2 separate regions of the Homo sapiens genome follow, and region 1 is linked to region 2. Evidence: promoter capture Hi-C in 16 types of primary human blood cells and fetal thymus (Javierre and others, 2016). All regions are on one chromosome and are shown on one strand. Each heading gives the region's core, a stretch centred on a gene start or on the middle of the fragment in contact. The rest is flanking DNA. Distances are from core to core; before and after follow the strand shown. Region 1 overlaps BPTF (bromodomain PHD finger transcription factor). Region 2 holds the start of ABCA5 (ATP binding cassette subfamily A member 5).

Evidence for each region. The method cuts DNA at HindIII sites, captures the fragments that hold promoters and counts their contacts. A CHiCAGO score of 5 or more calls a contact.
Region 1: a contact is called between a fragment that was not itself captured here and the fragment with the promoter of ABCA5 in region 2, in 1 of 17 cell types (total B cells). The highest score is 5.6, in total B cells.

The regions. Positions count from the first base shown.
Region 1 is chr17:67,983,982-67,988,911 of GRCh38, forward strand. BPTF (bromodomain PHD finger transcription factor) reads left to right here. Exons shown (of 28, transcript NM_182641.4): 28 at 1-397. Among named protein-coding and RNA genes, the nearest start is that of C17orf58, 10 kb to the right of the region's middle. The HindIII fragment of the contact is 3,310 bases long and covers 1,264-4,573 here.
Region 2 is chr17:69,323,934-69,328,881 of GRCh38, forward strand. It overlaps ABCA5 (ATP binding cassette subfamily A member 5), which reads right to left and starts at 3,200. Exons shown (of 39, transcript NM_172232.4): 1 at 3,119-3,200. RefSeq lists silencers at 2,887-2,976, 3,107-3,486 and an enhancer at 3,567-3,706. The HindIII fragment of the contact is 4,188 bases long and covers 1,519-4,948 here.

The sequences.
Region 1 (4,930 bases), core at 1,669-4,168, 1.3 Mb before region 2:
ACAAACTAAAGACTAATCGCTCAATATGAAAACATGAAAAAATTTTTGCTTAAAGTATTAAGATGGAAGTAGTTAAATATGGGTTATTTTGTCCTTTTACTTTTTTAAAAAATGTTACATATTGTATGCACTGTGCTGATGCAAGAATTCTACATTTTAATGAGTTATAAAATTATTCTGCATCTCATCACGTCACAGTATTTCTGTACTATTTATTCATATATATAAATATATATGGGCTTAATCATTTAAAATTTGTTGCAGCAAGAACTTTCCTACCTGTAGGCAATAGATTGCTATGTTTTTAACAAATTGTGGCAAATTCTAAACAGCAATTCTTTTGTACGTAATAGGACATTTCATCCTAGAAAAATAAAGTAATGTTTTTGACATTGGATTTGGTGCAGTTTCTAATGAAGCAATGGTTGGTTGGTTAATATGTTTTCTATAGCTGTTAGCCTTGCCAAATTGTACAAAAAGGATAAATTTTATGGAAATCTGAAACCAGGAAGATGTTAATTTCATATGTGTATTTAACGGTATAAAGTGTTGTATAGTTTCTATCACCATACAAATACATAGACATTTTATAGTTTCATCAACTACAGAGCTTTAGTCCTTCAGAAGTAATTTTTGAAAAACATACTTCTTTTTTTTTTTTTTTGAGATGGAGTTTCACTGTTGTTGCCCAGTCTGGAGTGCAATGATGCCATCTCGGCTCACCACAACCTCTGCCTCCCGGGTTCAAGCAATTCTCCTGCCTCAGCCTCCCAAGTAACTGGGATTACAGGCATGCGCCACCACGCCTGGCTAATTTTGTATTTTTAGTAGAGACAGGGTTTCTCCATGTTGGTCAGGCTGGTCTCGAACTCCCGATCCCAGGTGATCCGCCTGCCTCGGCCTCCCAAAGTGCTGGGATTATAGACATGAGCCACCACGCCTGGCCTGAAAACCATACATTCTTATAGAACATAATGAATTCCAAAAGCTGCTTTTCTGTGACAAGCAGAAATCTTTGACAAGCTTCTGCTATTCAGAAAGATCTACATAATACAGCTATTTTGCTTCCAATAATTCAGGCAGTAAACTGTACATTTGTGATATTCTTAGGATGTTTCTACCCCAGGCCTTGGGCTTATAAATACATTTAATTTGCATCAATAGATTTCCTTGGCTAAAAGTATTTTCAGTACCTGTTATACTTTACCTGCCAAGTTCACAATCCTTGAAACCATTTCATGAAAAGTATTTTCCTATTGGTAAAGCTTTTATTCTCCTATCCAAATTCTGCAGGAGGTTTAAATAAAATTGTGGCTGGGCATGGTGGCTCACGCCTATAATCCCAGCACTTTGGGAGACTGAAGCAAGTGGGTCACTTGAGGTCAGGAGTTGGAGAGACCTGCCTGGCCAACATGGTGAAACCCTGTCTCTACTAAAAATACAACAATTTAGCTGGACAAGAGGCACACGCCGGTAGTTCCAGCTACTCAGGAGGCTGAGGTGGGAGGACAGCTTGAACCCGGGAGGCAGAGGTTGCAGTGAGCTGAGATTGTGCCACTACGCTCCAGCCTGGGTGACAGAGCGAGACTCCGTCTCAAAAAAAGTGAGCTTTTGGAGATATTTTCTGAAGGAAAATAATTACCTTTTTATATTTCAAATGGCCTAGAGTGTTATTTAGAGACACTAAGATTTGCTGTTGTTTGTAATCTACCTTCCTAGGATCTGCAAATAAAAGTTACTTCCCTATTTCTGTTAATTCCTTTAGGCAAACTCTCTGCTGCTTTATGTTAAAGAGCCAACCTGGTGGCCTTTCAGATCTCTGCACACTTAGACAAAGCTACATGGTTATTACAGCTTTCGCTCTTCATGATTGAAGCTATTACCGTAGGTCTCAGACTTCTTGTCCTTAATGTGAGAATGGTGATATTTCATGGATAAAGTAATGAAGTACTTGAGGAGGTGGGGGTAAGAACCAGCTGAGAAGTATTTTTAATAATTTGAAACATTCTGAGGTACTTCTGGATACTTGGAGCGAGATACTAGAAGATTTTCTCAGAAGATCATACCGCTTGATCCAATTTGAACCAAATTCAACTAAAGAAATTAGCTATATTTTCAACTAAAATTAGCTATATTTTTAAAATGTTAATGTCCTGCTTTATCTAATTTATTTATTGCTTGCTCAAATATTTCCTGAAATTGAGGTGATGCATTATAGGTGGCAGGTCAGTTTTTATGAGTTTGTTTCTATGTGTGAATGGTCAGCCTTAAAAATGATTTTATCCGGGCGCGGTGGCTTATGCCTGTGATCCCAGCACTTTGGGAGGCCGAGGCGGGCGGATCACCTGAGGTCAGGAGTCCGAGACCAGCCTGGCCAACATGGTGAAAACCCGTCTCTACTAAAAATACAAAAATTAGCAGGCTGTGGTGGCACATGCCTGTAATCCCACTACTCGGGAGGCTGAGGCAGGAAAATTGCTTGAGCCCGGGAGGCGGAGGTTGCAGTGAGCCAAGATGGTGCCACCGCACTCCAGCCTGGCCGATAGAGCGAGATTCTGTCTAAAAAAAAAAAAAAAATTCAAGAGAAATACTAACAGTGCCAAATGATGCTTTCTTTACAAGGCAGTTGTGAAGAGCTATGGGTCGGGCGTGGTGGCTCACGCCTGTAATCCCAGCACTTTGAGAGGCCAAGGCAGGTGGCTCACAAGGTCGGGAGTTCGAGACCAGCCTGGCCAATGTGGCAAAACCCTGTGTCTACTAAAAATACAAAAAGTAGCCGGGCCTGGTGGTGGGTGCCTGTAATCCCAGCTACTTGGGAGGCTGAGGCAGGAGAATCGCTTAAACCCAGGAGGTGGAGGTTGCAGGGAGCCAAGATTGTGCCACTGCACTCCAGCCTGGGTGACAAGAGCAAGACTCAGTCTCACATAAATAAATAAACAAACAAACAGTGTATGTGTTTTATAGACGTTTTCCTACCCAAAGAAAAACAAGTGCTTGGCTGGGCGCGGTGGCTCACACCTGTAATCCCAGCACTTCGGGAGGCTGAGGCGGGCGGATTGTGAGGTCAGGAGATTGAGACCATCCTGGCTAACACGGTGAAACCCCGTCTCTACTAAGCATACAAAAAAAATTAGCCGGGCGTGATGGCGGGCGCCTGTAGTCCCAGCTACTCGGGAGGCTGAGGCAGGAGAATGGCGTGAACCCGGGAGGCGGAGCTTGCAGTGAGCTGAGATTGTGCCACTGCACTCCGCAGTGCGAGACTCCGTCTCAAAAAAAAAAAAGAAAAGAAAAAAAAGAAAAACAAGTACTTTTTTCCCTTGAATTGTAAAATAATAGCTTCATTTGAAGGAGGGATGCTATTGAATTACTACTGAAGGCAAGAGAGTATTCCATTTAGGGACTATTAATGTGTGCACATAGGCACAAACCCATTTGCTAAGAAAAATCTATCAATGGGACAAGATTATAAGAAACTATAGTGCATTTGCTCATTAAAATTTTCCATCAAATTGGCAGGGCGCAGTGGCTAATGCCTGTAATCCCAGCACTTTGGGAGGCTGAAGTGAGTGATTCACTTGGGGCCACAAGCTCAAGACCAACCTGGGCAACACGGCCAAACCCCGTCTCTACTAAAAGTACAAAAGGCCAGGCATGGTGGCTCTCAACTGTAATCCTAACACTTTGGGAGGCCGAGGCAGGTGAATCACTTGAGATCAGGAGTTCTAGACCAGCCTGGCCAACATGGTGAAACCCCATCTCTACTAAAAATACAAAAATTAACCGGGCGTGGTGATGGGCGCCTGTAATCCCATCTACTCGGTAGGCTGAGGCAGGAGAATCGCTTGAACCCGCGAGGCAGAGGTTGCAGTGAGCCGGGATCACGCCACTGCACTCCAGCCTGGGTGACAGAGTGAGATGCCATCTCAAAAAAAGGACAAAAGTTAGCCGGGCATTGAGGCCGGGCGCGGTGGCTCACGCATGTAATCCCAACACTTTGGGAGGCCGAGGTGGGCGGATCACGAGGTCAGGAGATCGAGACCATCTTGGCTAACACAGTGAAACCCCGTCTCTACTAAAAATACAAAAAAATTGGCCAGGCGTGGTCACCCAGGCTGGAGCGCAGTGGCGAGATCTTGGCTCACTGCAAGTTGCAAGCTCCGCCTCCCAGGTTCATGACATTCTCCTGCCTCAGCCTCCCGAGTAGCTGGGACTACAGGCGCCCGCCACCACGCCAGGCTAATTTTTTGTGTTTTTAGTAGAGACGGGGTTTCACCATGTTGGCCAGGATGGTCTCGATCTCCTGACCTAGTGATCTGCCCGCCTCGGCCTCCCAAAGTGCTGGGATTACAGGCGTGAGCCACTGCGCCCGACACAGACCTGGTTTTGAATGAAGACCTTAATGTTTAGCCAGGAAGTTTCTAAGAATCTGGCCTGCATGTGTTTGCCAAGGTGTGCATGTTAACTATGTGACCTCCAAGTATCACAGGTATCACAGCTCTGGCACTTTTTTTGTTTCCAGAATTACCCAGAAACGGACTATTATCAAACCAATCTAAGTCAAACCCTAAACTTAAGCTTCAGGATTATGTAAAAGTTATTTTTTTCCTTTTTCTTTATTATTATTATTTTTTTTTTTTGGAAACTGGGTCTTGCTCTGTTGCCCAGGCTGGAGTGCAGTGGCACAGCTCACAGCAGCCTTGACCTCCTGGGCACAAGCCATCCTCCTACTTCAGCCTCCCAAGTAGCTGGGACCAAAGGCACACGCTAGCACGCCTGGCTAATTTTTTTATTATTTGTAGCGATGAGGTCTTGCTATGTTGCCCAGTCTGGACTCAAACTTCTGGCCTCAAGTGATCCTGCCTCGGCCTCCCAAAGTGCTGGGATTACAGGCATGAGCCATTACACCTGGACCTTTTTTAAACTAGAGTTA
Region 2 (4,948 bases), core at 1,950-4,449:
ATTTCAGTGTCTATAAATACAGTGTTATTGGAACACAGCCATGCTCATTCATTTATGTATTATCTATGACTGCTTTTGTGCTACAACAGTAAAGTTATTGAGACAGAGACCATACTGTCTGCAAACCTAAAATATTTACTATCTGGCACTTTACAAAAAACGTTGGTCAACTCCTGTAAAAAGGAAGAAGAGGGGAAGTGAGAAAAGTGGCATATTCACTTAACATTTACTGAAGGATTTATGCATCCAACATTATGAGGCAAAAAAAATAAAGTTAGACACTGTCACTAACTTTGCAGAGAGATAAAATTTAATATAATGTGATAAGAGAGAAAGAGCCTGGAAAGGAGTGGAATGGAATTTCCAGGCAGAAAGAAAAGAATGGTAAAGCTAGACTCCCAAACAAAAGGGCTTGACTTTTGTGAAGAACAGGGATACCTGCCATATGGCAGAGGCATAAGGCAAAGTGAACCGGAGCAAGGGGTGCAGATGTATGTTCTAGATAACACGGTAAAGGCAGGCATTGGGAATGGATTATGAAGTTTCTGGTATCCAAAATTAGACACCCTAATTTGTGCACTCATATCTTTCCTCTACTGTACTTTTCACAACTGTGAGTCATGTTTAATTTCCTAGCAATCACATATTCCACTAGTCCATCACTTTCCCAATCCCCAAATCTCCAAAGCTTCCATCTGTAGGATCACCCTCAGATTATGACCTTGAATCCTACTTTACTGAGAAAACTGAAGCAATTAAAAGAGATTTCCAAAATCCACCACAAAGTAATGTTATACATTTCAACAATGTGCCATTTCAGCCTAAACTGAAGACTGATTTCATTACAACTCTGAAACACAAGAAATTAAATGCAATCTGGTATTAGCTACACTTTTAAACTAAGATATTTTTGGAATGAGAAATTAGGAACATATCTGGCACATGAAACAAACTCCTGCCTAGCTACATCATTTGCTTCTCAATCAATGAAATAAAAGCACTACAAAATATGCCTTTTAGCTTAAAAAGGGATAAATTATAAATGCTCTCATCTTCTTTATTGCTTTAAAATTTACTGTAAGGTGGTGCAATAATAAAACAAAATGCAGTCAGGTGCAGTGGCTCACGTGGCAATCCCAGTGGGAGGAAGGCTTGAGCCCAAGAGTTCAAGATCAACCTGGGCAACATAGAGAGACACTGTCTCTACCAAAAAAAAAAAAAAAAAAATAGCCAGGCGTAGGGGCACACAACTGTGGTCCCAGCTACTTGGGAGGCTGAGGTGGGAGGATCACTTGAGCCTGCGAAGTCAAGGCTGCAGTGAGCCAAGATCCTGCCACTGCACTTCATCCTGGGTGACAGAATGAGACCCTGTCTCAAAAAAAAAAAAATGCTAGTTGTCAATATAATTTAACCTAAATTTTATCACAGTGTTTCTTGCTGAGGGAGAAAATAACAATGCAATGGTACACAGAGGACAAGTCATCCAATAAATTTTCTTATGCATAATAGGTCCTTAAAAGCTTGCCCTTAAAACTATTTTTAATCCAACTAATTTACATACTAGAAAAGTTATGACTTAGTACAATATCATAAAATTCTTTTATGCAATCACCCTCTCAACTAAACTCAAGGACAGAGATTATAAATTGTATTCATATCGGTACTCTTGGCACATAGTATGGTATCTGGAATGTAAAAGACATGCAACAAACCAGCCTGGGCAATATAGCAAGACTTCGTCTCTGAAAAACAAATAAAAAATTACCTGGGCGCAGTGACACACGCCTGTAGCCCCAGCTATTCAGCAGGGTCCCTAGAGTCCAGACGTTCAAGGCTGCAGTGAACTTTGATCGCACCACTGCACTCTAGCCCGAGACGCTGTCTCTTTAAAAATAAAAGACATGCAATACACATGGAATGTACTAATAAATTTGCTCTTATAGTGAATGTAAGATTTCCCTACACTAAATCTGTTTGAAAGGAAATATACTCAAACAGCACATATGCAAAGATTAACGCCTCTTTAGTTTGATTTTAACACAAATACCCACAAAGCCCTAACTGCCCTAATAATGTTCCCTACTATGGAGTCTTCCCTAAAACACATACAATATTGCTCTCCCGGCAAACACAAAATATACTAAATAAAGCACCAGAATTAGGGTCTGGCAGCCCGGGTTGGAATCTCAACTCCATCCTTTTACTAGCTGAGACCTTAATAAGTTACTTAACCTCTTTGAGGCCCATTCTCCACACCTGCCCAACTGGAATAACCCCCTCCAATCCTACAGGGTTGCTGTCAGAATGAAAAGAGCTAATACCGAGCCTGGCTTAAAGCTGTAGTCCAGCAAATACTCCTCTTCCCTTAGATTCCTTCAGAACGCCCTTGTAGAAAGTAAACGTGGTTATTATCTTCATTATTTTCGGACTTATTTATTTAAAACGTAAATCGAAGCCTGAGGAGCCCAGGGGAAAACCTCCTTCAGCTTAATAGCTCCAGCCTGCCCAGCTTTCCGATCCAATTAAGTATTTCCATGCCTGGAGCTCCTATTCGTGTTTTAGGATCAGGGAATTTCCCTCCCAAACTGTGTCATGAGATCTGCGCATTTTCTTCTCACTGAAACTCCTTTTAACACGCAAGGTAATGATCCGCGCGTAACCTCGCAGGGAAGAGCAAGCGCTCATTACCCAGCTGTTCAGACGGAAATTTACATCAATATTTGTTTTCCTTCTTTCCCTGAGGTTGCTGAGGGTGGAACGACAGCGTCCAGGCAAAGGCAGTGTCCCGAAGTCCCACGGCCGGACCCGGTCCCAGGGGAGCCTCGCGGAGCCCCCGCCGCAGGGCCCCGACCCCCTCACGTCCGCATCCTGGGCGCTCCCACCGCATCCCCGAGGCTGGCAACCCGCGCTTCCCGGGAGCTGAGGGAGGTCTGTTTCCCTCAGCTCGCCGCCTCTGCCCGCTTCCGAGCCCGCTTCACCCCACACCTCAGACGCCGAACTCCCCTTCTCTCCCCGCCGTCCCTCGCTGGCCAGCCCCTCCTCGTCCCCTCAACTCCCCCAGGGACGGCTGTCCCAGGCTAGCCTCAAGCGCCGCCGCCGCCCGCGACGCCCGCCTCACCTCAGGGCCCGAGCCGCAGAGCTGTCAGGCCTGGACGCGCTCAGTCTGTTGACTCAGTGCGGGTGACCCAGCTGGGATCTGTGCGAGGGCGCGGCCGCGCGCACCCGCGCGCTCCTGGCGCAGGCAGAGCTGGCGGCGCCGAAGTCGCGCCCCGCCTCCTGCAGAGCGCACCTGAGGGCGGGGCTCCTAGAAAGCGCCGCTCCGCGTACGGGCGCGCTTCAGACGCTCGGCCCCGCGCGTCCCGGCGCACGCAGGCAAGCAGCGCGCCCGGAAGAGGAGAGCGGCTGAGGGTGGGGCGAGCGGTGGCGCGCCGCTGCCCAGGGCCCCTGAGCCACTAGAGTCGGGCCTCGTGGCTCTTCCCCAGGGCCTCCCACGCCTGGGTTCTGCGGGGATCTCGCCACGCTCTTTCTGGAGGCACGGGCAAAAACCACGGCCTCGTGTCTCAGTGGTAAACCTGCCGCCTCTTAGCGGGTGACCTTGGCCCACGGCCCTCTCCTCATCTGCCTCGCCCAGTCACGTCTCCTCTTAAGCATCCTTGCCGTCTGTCTCCTGGCATTTGGATGGGCCTCTCTGAACGCGTTTTGAGTCCTCTGCAGCCCCGCTTCCTCCCGCCGCGGCATCTGGAGTGCTGTGGCCCCGTTTCCGTAACTCTTGCCTCCCCTCCCCAGCCTCCTCATTGGCCCTCACACCCCGACCTGGGAGGTCCTCCCACTGAGGGTGCTTGTAGTTCGCGGAGTGTCCTCATCAAAGACTGGGAATGCGGCAGATGCTGAATTTTCCAAACGGCCTGAGACACATGACATCTGTGAGAGACTGGATACTGCACTTACTTTGCTAAAAATATAATCTAGTGTTTTGAGCTTCATTACTCAAAGTGACCTAAATGGGGTCAAAAGTTATTAACACTAACATTACGTATTTTCCTCTCCACATTTCTGTATAGTCACATTCCCTTGCACAAAGACTTTTTTTTTATTCTGTCAATCCTGTGTACATCATGTTTTTTTTTTTTACTTGTCTTTGTGTTATCTGCTTCTCGAATTTAAACCAGGTCTCCCCAACATGCACTCTGCTTTCTAAATTCTTAGGGGAAAAACAAACAAACAAGGAATCAAGTTTTACTTATGGAATATGAATTAAATAGAAAATTCAAAGAGGTTCGTCAGAATCCTTGATGATTAAAACAGCGGTCCCCAACCTTTTGGGCACCAGGGACCAGTTTCATGGAAGACAGTTTTTTCTGGGGGAGGGAGGATGGTTTGGGGATGATTCAAGCACATTATATTTACTGTGCACTTTATTTCTACTGTTACTACACTGTAATATGTAATGAAATAATTATACAACTCACCATAATGTAGAATCAGTGGGAGCCATGAGCTTGTTTTCTTGCAACTAGACAGTCTCATCTGGGGGTGATGGGAGACAGTGACAGATCATCAGGCATTAGATTCTCATAAGGAGCACGCAACCTAAATCCCTCACATGCGCAGTTCACAATAGGGTTCTCGCTCCTATCACAATCTAATGCCACTGCTGATCTGACAGGAAACGGAGTTCAGGCCCTAATGCCAGCCATGGGGGGCCCCTGTAAATACAGATAAAGCTGCACTCACTTGCCCTCCGCTCACCTCCTGCTGTGCTGCTTGGTTCCTCGCAGGCCACAGATCCCGGTAGCAGTCTCTGGCCTGGGGATTGGGGACCCCTGGATTAAAAGATCTAGCAATGGGGATGGGGGAAAGGGAGATAAGTATATTCAAAAAACTACACCAGGAAACTAAAGAAGGCATGTAATGAAAACTATCCCTGATATATTCTGTCTCTTTTGGA